Regions from separate parts of the Homo sapiens genome. Here regions 1 and 2 are each linked to region 3. The links are contacts of gene promoters, found by promoter capture Hi-C in human tissues and cell types (Jung and others, 2019). All regions are on one chromosome and are shown on one strand. The core of a region is centred on a gene start or on the middle of the fragment in contact, and the rest is flanking DNA. Distances in the headings are between cores, read along the strand shown. Region 1 overlaps SRBD1 (S1 RNA binding domain 1). Region 2 has its middle 80 kb from the start of LINC01121. Region 3 holds the start of SIX2 (SIX homeobox 2).

Region 1 (3,174 bases), core at 281-2,780, 430 kb before region 3:
TATTTATCTGCCCTATTCTCTCTTTCCCTCTCAGGACTCCAGTTACATATAGTTGTGCATTGTGATCTTGTCCCACAGTTCATTAAGGTTCTTTTATACCCCCCATCCTCGCCTCTCCTTCTTTTTTTATTTCTGGTCTTCAGATAGGATAATTTCTGCATATCTCTCTTCGTGTTCACTGATTTATTTATTTTTCTACTCCAATCTGCTGTTAAGCCCATTCAATAATTTTATTTCAGATGCTGTATTTCTTTATTCTTTGTTTATTAAAGCTTTAATTCCTTTACTGCTGTTTACCATCTATTCATTGATTTGGGACCATATTTGCCTTTAAGTCCTGGAGCCACTTTAAAGTTCTTGTCTGCTGTTTCCAACATCTGGGTCATCCTAGTTTGGTTTCTGCTGGATAAGTTGACCCATTATTCTGTTATTGGTCACATGTGCCTGCATTTTTGTATGTCTAGCTAGTTTTATTACATGGTGGATATTGTGGATGCTCTGTGTTGTTGAAAATACAAATTTTGTTGTCTTCCTTTAAAGAGTATTGAATTTTCTTCTGGTAATCAGATAATTAACTCTCAGATCAGACTATCAGATCAGAATGAATCATATAGGGATTTTTTTCAAGACTTATTTTTAAAGCAGTTTTAGGTTCGCAACAGAGCAAAAACTACAGAGAGTTACCATATAAATCTTCCTGCCACATATGCACAGCCCCCTCCAGTCTCAACATTCTGCACCAGAATGGCACATTTGTTACAATTGATGAATGCATATCATTATCAGTCAAAGTTAATAGTTTACATTATGGTATAATGTTACACATTATGGGTTTAGACAAACAGATAATAACCTATATTCACTATTTATAGTATCATAAAGACACTAAATTTTAACAAAATCCATATCAATTATTTCTATTATGAATTGTGCCTTTATTGTTGTATCTAAAAAAGTCATTGCCATATCCAAGTTTAGTTAGATTTTCTCCTATGTTATTGCCTAGTTTTATGGTTTCATGTTTTACATTTAGGTCTATGATTCATTTTGATGTGAGTTTGTTTCATTTTTTGTCTTTGTTTTTGAGACAGAGTCTTAGTCTATCGCCCAGATTGTAGTGCAGTGGCACGATCTTGGTTCACTGCAACCTCCGCCTCCTGAGCTCAGGTGATCTTCCCATCTCAGGCTCCTGAGTAGCTGGGAATATCAACATGTACCACCATGTCTGTCTTATGATTCATTTTGATTTACTTTTGTTAAGGGTGTAAGATCTGTGTCTACATTCATTATTTTGCAAGTTGATGTCCAGTTGTTCCAGCACCACCTGTTGCAAAGATACCTTTTCTCCATTGTATTGCCTTTGCTCTTTTGTCAAAGATCAGTTGACTCTATGTATATGGGTCTTTTGGTGCTTTCTATTCCATTGATCTATTTGTCTTTTTTTTTTTTTTTTTAAACCAATACTGCAGTGTCTTGATTACTATGCTTAGTGTAGTATGTCTTAAAAGTTAGATAGTGTCAGTTCTTTGACTTCATTCTCTTTTAATACTGTGTTGGCTGTTCTGGGTCTAATTAGCTCTCTATATAAACTTTAGAATTTTAATTGGGATTGTGTTGAATCTATAGATGGGAAGAACTGACATCTTGACAGTATTGAGTCATCCTACCCACATACATGAAATATCTCTCCTCTTAGTTCTTTGATTTCTATCAATAGAGTATTGTAGTTTTCTTCTTATAGATCTTATACATATCTTATTAGATTTATACTTTAAGCTTTTGGAGGGTGCTAATGTAAATGTACTGTGTTTTTAATTTTAAATACCACTTATTTATTGCTGGCATATAGGAAAACAGTTTACTTTTGTATATTAACCTTGTGTCCTACAACCTTGCTGTGATCACGTATTAGTTCCAGGAGTTTTTTAATCAATTCTTTTGAATTTTCTACATAGACGATCATATTATCTGTGAACAAAGAGTTTTCTTTCTTTCCTCATGATAAGGTTAGGCCTTGTGTCCCCACCCAAATCTCATCATGAATTGTAATCATCAGGTCTTGAGGGAGAGACCTGGTGAGAGGTGATTGGATCATGGGGGTGGTTTCCCCTATGCTGTTCTCCTCATAGTGAGTAAATTCTAACAAGATCTGATGGTTTTATAAATGGTAGTTTTTCCTGCACTTAGACACACACTCTCTCTCACCTGCCACCATGTAAGTCATGCCTGCTTCCCCTTCTATCATGATTGTAAGTTTCCTGAGGCCTCCCCAGCCATGTGGAACTGTGAGTCAGTTAAACCTCTTTCCTTCATAAATTACCCAGTCATAGGAAGTTCTTTATAGCGGTGTGAAAATGGACTAATACACCTCACAATCTTATATAACTTTTCTTTTCTTACTGCATTAGGTGGTACTTCCAGTATGATGTTGAGTGGTGGTAAGAAGGGACATCCTTGTCTTGTTTCTGATCTTAGTGGGAAATATTCTGGTTTCTTACCATTAAATGTTATGTTAGCTGTAGGGTTTTTGTAGATGTTTTTAATCACCTTGAGGATGTTTCCCGTTTGTTCTTAGTTTATTGAGAATTTTTATCATGAATGAGTGTTAGTTAGATTTTGTCAAGTGCTTTTTCTGCAGCTAGGACTATGTGATTTTTTTTTTCTTTTTTAGCTTGTTGATGTGATAGATTCCATTAATTGATTTTTTGAATGTTGAACCAGACTTGCATACCTGAGATATATTATATTTGGCTATGGTGTATAATTCTTCTTATAGATTGTTAGACTTGATTTCCTAGCTTTTTTGAGAATTTTTGCATCTGTGTTCATGAGAAATACTGATCTGTCATTTTCTTGTAATGTCTTTGTCTGGTTTTGGAATTAAGGTTATGCTGGTTTCATAGAATTATTTAGGAAGTATTCCCTCCGCTTCTATTTTCTGGAAAAGATTATAGAGAATTGGTATAATTTCTTCCTTAAATGTTTGATAGAATTCATCAGTGAACCCATCTGAGTAAGGATTATTTTTTAAAATTTTGTTAGGGTGGGGGTAGTGTAATCCTTTCTCCAGGACTAGAATAGCTCACTTCTACCCCTTTCTGGGTATCAGCAGAGTATCCGGGGTGTTCAACGAGGTCTCTTCAGTATGATTGGTAGGACGTCCTATGTCTCCCA
Region 2 (3,099 bases), core at 169-2,668, 330 kb before region 3:
TTACTGTAGAGGTAACATGGGGATGAGAGAACCTATTCTGCTTGTGGGGAGGGTTTGGGCCAGGCCTCTTCAAGCACCAACATCTGCCATTTAGTATCCTTAAAAGGGTTAACACAGGATTTCTTTTAAACACATTGAAGGATAACTTTTTGCTGCTCGTTAAGGCCCTTCCCTACTTGGTCCCGAGGAGTGACTTTCTGGCAGTATTCTCCGACATGCCTGTTCAGAGCACTGGCTTCACACTGTGGGCAGGGCAACCCAGTTCAAAGGCTGCCCTGAGGCTTGGAGGGATGGTTGACCACAGTGATACATCACAGTGGTGCCTCCTGGCAGGGCTGCTGCATGGAGGCTCAAAGGGCCTCTTCACCTTGGGGGTCTGGGTCAGGCAGTCGAGTGGCCACGCTGGCTGCTGATTCCTTCTGCCAAGGGGGTCCTTTAAGATTTAGTCTCTCTGTGGCCAATAAACTCATCTAACATCCAAGTCAGGACTGGGCCCCCTTCTGACCTATATATGACTGATGGCGGCCTAACTTTAGGGTCATAATTTGAAAAGAGACCCCCCCCAAAAATCAACTTTTGTGCTTTTTGAGTTCTTAAAATTTTTATTCCAGGAGAGGAAGTTAAACTCACAGGAACTCCCTCTTGAATGTCTAGGTTCTGGCCCCTGGACCACTCCATGTGGGGTTTGATGTTTGCTGAATAAAATCCTCATAACAACTAGTGTAGGGGTCCTCCAGCTTGCCCGCACATGAGAACCACCTGAGGTTCTATCCCAGACCAATTAGATCAGAACCTCTCGGGGCAGAGCCCAGGCCGTGGTATTTTAAAAAAGCTCCTCAGATGATTCAAATGTGCTGCTAAGGTTCCAGACCATTGAAGGGGGTAGGGTGGCTTCAGAGAATGCCGCCAAATGCCCTCATTGCCAAAGTGACAAGACTGAGCCCAGGGGAGGTGAAGTAACGTGTTCACTAGAAAGCACAGCTAGACAGAGGCACGCTGACCTCTGGAGTCCCAGTCTCTGAGGTGAGCCACCTTTGGAAGTGTTCTGTTGGTCCTGAATATGAGCTGAACTAGTGACTCTTATCCACGTAGCAGCAGCTATAGAAACAAAGGGCAAGCGCGCTCTAGGAAGTCTTTTAGTTCTATGAAGACTGTTGTGGTGTTTTCTCTCCTCTCTGGTGCTGTGGCTGAGCAGGGTGTCACCAGTGACCTGGGGAAGGATCCATGATACACTTAGAGGATTAGAGGCGACATGGGGGAGGGGGCGGGAGCCCTGATGACCGGCAGGATGGGGGGCTGGACATCACAGAGCTGGGAGTGAGAACACCCAGCTCTGTCTTCTCTTTCTGCTGTGGCTTTGCCATGTTCCCAGCCTCCTCCAGGTTTCCTTTTCCCAACTGCAAAAATAAGACTTCATTTACAGAATCTTAGGTTTACAAGGTGCTTCCAGAAGACGTGTGCTCTGGTCCTTGCAGCAGTGCTGTGAGGCAGAGGGAGCAGGAAGCTTCATCTCCATCTTATAGATGTAGCACAAACGTTGAGAAGCTTCACAGGCCTCACCATAGGGTGATAACATCTCAGAGCCCACTCCCATCCCATCCTCTAGCATTTTCTAGAAGTTTCCAAGACCTCATATGAGTTCTTAAACCAGTCTGTTGGTTTCAGACTCCAGGCACAACTCACCTATCCTTCCTGCCCAGCTTCTGGGACACAAGTCCTCACCCCTGCCCCTTGGCCCTCCCACATCCCCTGCAGTGTCAGTGCTGGGTGAGGGTCACTCGCCGGATGGTCCCAGGGTACGGAACTCCTTCTTGCCCAAAACCAGTGCTGCTCTTGGCCAGCCTGGCCTTGAGAGCTTTGCTTAGCAAGAGCCTCCTGAGCGTTCTCCCAGCTTCTGCTACTGACCCCGCTAGCCACCCAAGTCTAAGCAGTTTGATCATTCCTCCAAATTCCAATCTTCTCAACCCTTCATGCTCACCTTGACCTTCAGAGCTTCTGAGAGTTTGAACAGAGCCAATTGAGCCCCCCTGGTAAGTCTGGGGCACAGAATGGGGCTGGGGAGGGGCGTCAGCCACGCGAACAGAGCTGCCTGCCACTAAGGTCCTGTTACACAGAGGAGGAGACTGGGGCCCCACGTCACTGAGCCTGTGAGTGACCGGGTGAGAAAGGAAACCTCCACCTTCTGAACCCAGGCCAGTGCAGATGAGAGTCATACCCAGTCCAGGGAAAGGGAAAGCAGGCCTCCGAAAGAGCACATGCCAGTGCCTGGGGCTGATTCTGAAGGCCACCCTCTCCCCCAACGCCGGCCTTCAGGCCCAAGCACCCTGGGGCGCTCCCAGGCGCAGGTGGGCCATGGGCTGCCCGCATCCCCACCGCTAACAAAGGCCCCGCGCCCTGGCGGCCTCCCGAGGCCGGCGGCCTTTGAAGCGCACAGCCTGGATTATTTAATATAATGGAACAGTGCAACCTGACCCATCAGAGACATAAATTTCCAGGTGTTTTAAATTTGTTTTCCCCGTCAGAATGGTAAATGGCAGATAGTAAAATTCGGCACCAGGTCGTGGCTGTGGGTGCAGAGCTGGCCACAGGCTGAGCTCCTGCCACTCCAGGGTGGGCTTGGCGGCCTAGGCAGCCCAGGGTGCACCAGAGGTGGCCCCGTGTCCACGGACTACCCTGGACATGAGGCTCCGAAGCTCTGAAAAGGATCCTAGGCCAGGGCTGGGTGGGGATCCCGGGTCCTTAGTTTCAGAAGGAGTCTCAGGGTATCTAAGTCTTCTGGCCATGAGGGTCTCTCACCCTGACATCTGTGCAGAGAAACCAGCAGCCCCACGCCCCCTAGGTTAATTGAGGTGTGAGTGCCTGTAACACCCATAACGAGGTTTCTATTGCTCTTGCCAAGTTCCATTATGGACGCATCTGCTTTCTGATTTTTCCAAGATGGTTTGATTTTTTTTTCTTTAAGTCCAAACTACAAAGGAACAGTCTGCACAGTAGCTTTTTGCAGAAGGTAAGAGATGCTGACTGCTTTTTCCAGACCCCTGCTTTTTTGAGATGTGTCAGAATCCACAGGGCGGCTGCTGAGGATAGATATTACTCCGA
Region 3 (3,241 bases), core at 288-2,787:
AGGAACTGGCCTAGACTCGGGTTCCATAGCCCTAGACTGGCTGAGGGCAGAGCCCAGGATTTGTGCTGGCTTGGGTCAGGCACTGAGTATGGCCCTAGGAGCTCCTGGCCTGCAGCAGCTGAGGGGGGAAGAGGAGGAAACTGAAGGAAGTGGAAAGGACATGTCCGGGAAGGAGCTAAGCCCCGGGCTTTTCAAAACGTAGAGCAAGAACACACCCATCCTCAGTTCTCCCACCTTTGTGCGAGCCCTTCTCCCACAGGACCAGCACCACATGTTTCCATTGGCACCCTGACAAAGAAGCAAAAAACAGGACCCCCTTTTAAAGCACCTCATCCCGGAGCTCAGCGAGCCGGTTCCCAGGCTGGAGTGGCCAGGAGCCGAGCCGATCCCCAGCGGCGAAGCGGGAGGACTGGGAATCTTGCCTCCGTTCTCCTCCCCGACCACCCACCGGGGAAGCCCCACCACCGTCCTAGAGTCCCTGCCGTCGCCCCTCTCCCCCGCCCCGGTGGGCAGACTGCGGGTCTGCGCCGTCCGGGGTTCTGCGTCGCAGCTGCCGGCCGGAGTCAGCTTCCATAGAGGCCACACGGAACTGCCTGGCGCTCCTCGGGCTGTGGGACCCGTGGGGTTAAGTCTGAGTCCCCGCCCGGCGAGGAGCAGAGAGCGCAGAGTTGGGGCGGTACAGGCCGCCAGGCAGCCGGCGGGGCTAGGAGAGGGAGGAAAGGCGGGATCCTCCGGGAAGTCGATTCTCCGGCGTCCGCCTGCGGCCACTGCCAAATCTTCCCCATTTCTTTCGTCTACTCCCTCCCCTTTTCCCTCGAGGACCGCTGAGTCCAGAGTTTCTAGGATGGGGGTGGGGCGCTGTCAGCAGAAAAAGCCAAGTCTTTGGGCGGCACCCGAGCACGTCCAAACTCTCCCATCCCACTGGCCTGCGCCGGGGTAGAATGTGCCCGGTGAACAGAGAGCCTGGGAGGGACGCGGTGACCTGGGGAGAAGGGGAACCCTGTAGGGTCTGGGCGAGGCTGCAGAGCCCTCTCCTAGCCAAAGCTGCCCAAACTTTCTTCCCCTGGAGTCTCCTTCCACCCCTCTCCCTCCCCTTCCTCCTGGACACCCCCTTAAACGGTCTCCGCCTTCCCTTCTCTCCTCTTCTCTCCCCACCTCGATCCACCCCTTTTCGTCTTCGCCCGCTCCCCCCGCTCTCCTGTCCTCCTCCTCCCTCCCTCTTTGGGCATCCGCCCCGTCAATCTCCGCCGCCGCCGGCCCCAACCCGGCCCCTCTCCGCCTCCCAGGCTCTCAGAGCGCCCCAGGCTCCAGTAGAGCCGCCCTCAGTTCTGCGCGGAGCGGGGCGATCTGTCAGCGGAGCCGGCCGGGGGGAGCCGCCCGGCCCGCCGAGGCTCGGGTTACCAGTGACTGACAGCGTCTCCATGGCGAATAATTTGACTCCGACTATTGTCTGGCGCTGGCAGGCCCCGGGTCAGATAACCGGACCAATCAGGGCGCGGGCCGCCGCGCCTCATGCCCGCTTAGAATAATATTATTAAGAAAGCTGAGAGCCAGCTAGACGGGAGGGAGAACGAGTGAGAAGCGAGCGAGGGAACGGCGGGCGGGCGCGGAGCATGCGGAGCGGCGCCCCGGGCGGCCCCCGGGCTTGGGCGAGGGCTTGGGCCAGGCGCGCGGGCCGTTGGGGTTCGGAGCTTCGTGGGACCCGCGGCCGGCGCGGGGACGTACGGCAGTGACTCGGGGCTCACCGGGGGCCAGTGCCGGGCCAGGGGGCCAGCCCCGCCCGCGTCTCGGCCCGGACGGCCCGGCGAGGAAGCTCCCATGCGGGACCGCGCGGCCCGGTGAGGGCGCGCGCGGGCGGGCGGGGACGCAGCCGGCACCATGTCCATGCTGCCCACCTTCGGCTTCACGCAGGAGCAAGTGGCGTGCGTGTGCGAGGTGCTGCAGCAGGGCGGCAACATCGAGCGGCTGGGCCGCTTCCTGTGGTCGCTGCCCGCCTGCGAGCACCTTCACAAGAATGAAAGCGTGCTCAAGGCCAAGGCCGTGGTGGCCTTCCACCGCGGCAACTTCCGCGAGCTCTACAAGATCCTGGAGAGCCACCAGTTCTCGCCGCACAACCACGCCAAGCTGCAGCAGCTGTGGCTCAAGGCACACTACATCGAGGCGGAGAAGCTGCGCGGCCGACCCCTGGGCGCCGTGGGCAAATACCGCGTGCGCCGCAAATTCCCGCTGCCGCGCTCCATCTGGGACGGCGAGGAGACCAGCTACTGCTTCAAGGAAAAGAGTCGCAGCGTGCTGCGCGAGTGGTACGCGCACAACCCCTACCCTTCACCCCGCGAGAAGCGTGAGCTGGCGGAGGCCACGGGCCTCACCACCACACAGGTCAGCAACTGGTTCAAGAACCGGCGGCAGCGCGACCGGGCGGCCGAGGCCAAGGAAAGGTACGAGTAAGTAGACCTTCTTCGGCGCCAGCTCCCCGGGGCCCAAGGGAGGGGTTCGCAGGGCTTCTGCCGGTCCCCCGGAGAGGCCTAAACTGGGCCCCCAGGCCCGGCCACAGCCCAGCGGCAGCCCGGCCTGACTTGGACGATGCTTAGGCCTTTCTATGCCGGAGACCCGGCGAGCAGGGATTTGTCTAAAGCGGGCAGAGCAATTCAGGAAGTTGTCAACTAACTACTCGGTCGCTAGAGGAAAAGGGTGGAGAAGCAGAGAGCTTCGGGGCAGCGCAGAACTGTGGGCCTGTATCCCCTGTGAGGCAGGCACAGTAGGTCTGGTCATCCTCAGGACAGAGGGGTTTGAGCCCAGATGAAAGGGGATTTGCAGATTTCTTGCTGGTGGTGCTTCCCGGCATTTCCCCCCAGCCTTAGCTCCAGGCCAAAGTGTGATGGGGTCGGGACTGGGGCTGGAACTTCCCTAGAATGACCTGGATGGGGAAAAGCCAGGCCATGAATTTTCGTTGTCACATGGAGTTGAGAGCGGGTCCTTTATCTCCTTAGAAAGGATCCAGAGGTGAAAGGGAGGAAGTGTCAGTTCTGGGAGAGAAGAGACGCATGCCCTGTTTTCTGCCTTGCTAGAGATAGCCGCCCTTCCCTGGCACTCCAGGCCCTTGATGCCTCTCTCCTTAGGCCCTACCTCTGATGGGTAGGTCGGAATGTCTGCGGTGAGCTGAGAGGCACAGAGGGGCTGGGAGTTGGATGTCCTCAGGTAAACCAGGACTTCCTGAACCAGCCTAAAGGTTGATCATTAG

The links. The method cuts DNA at HindIII sites, captures the fragments that hold promoters and counts their contacts. A contact is called where the count stands out against the background at its distance.
Region 1: a contact is called between a fragment that was not itself captured here and the fragment with the promoter of SIX2 in region 3, in 1 of the 25 tissues and cell types used here (mesendoderm cells).
Region 2: a fragment that was not itself captured here is called in contact with the fragment with the promoter of SIX2 in region 3 in 1 of the 25 tissues and cell types used here (liver).

The regions. Positions count from the first base shown.
Region 1 is chr2:45,435,638-45,438,811 of GRCh38, reverse strand. The region is part of intron 16 of SRBD1 (S1 RNA binding domain 1); the gene reads left to right. Among named protein-coding and RNA genes, the nearest start is that of SRBD1, 170 kb to the left of the region's middle. The HindIII fragment of the contact is 4,079 bases long and covers 1-3,174 here.
Region 2 is chr2:45,333,721-45,336,819 of GRCh38, reverse strand. No RefSeq gene overlaps it. Among named protein-coding and RNA genes, the nearest start is that of LINC01121, 80 kb to the right of the region's middle. The HindIII fragment of the contact is 3,880 bases long and covers 1-3,099 here.
Region 3 is chr2:45,007,748-45,010,988 of GRCh38, reverse strand. SIX2 (SIX homeobox 2) reads left to right here and starts at 1,537. Exons shown (of 2, transcript NM_016932.5): 1 at 1,537-2,438. The coding sequence starts at 1,879. RefSeq lists enhancers at 465-1,064, 2,069-2,842. The HindIII fragment of the contact is 8,583 bases long and covers 1-3,241 here.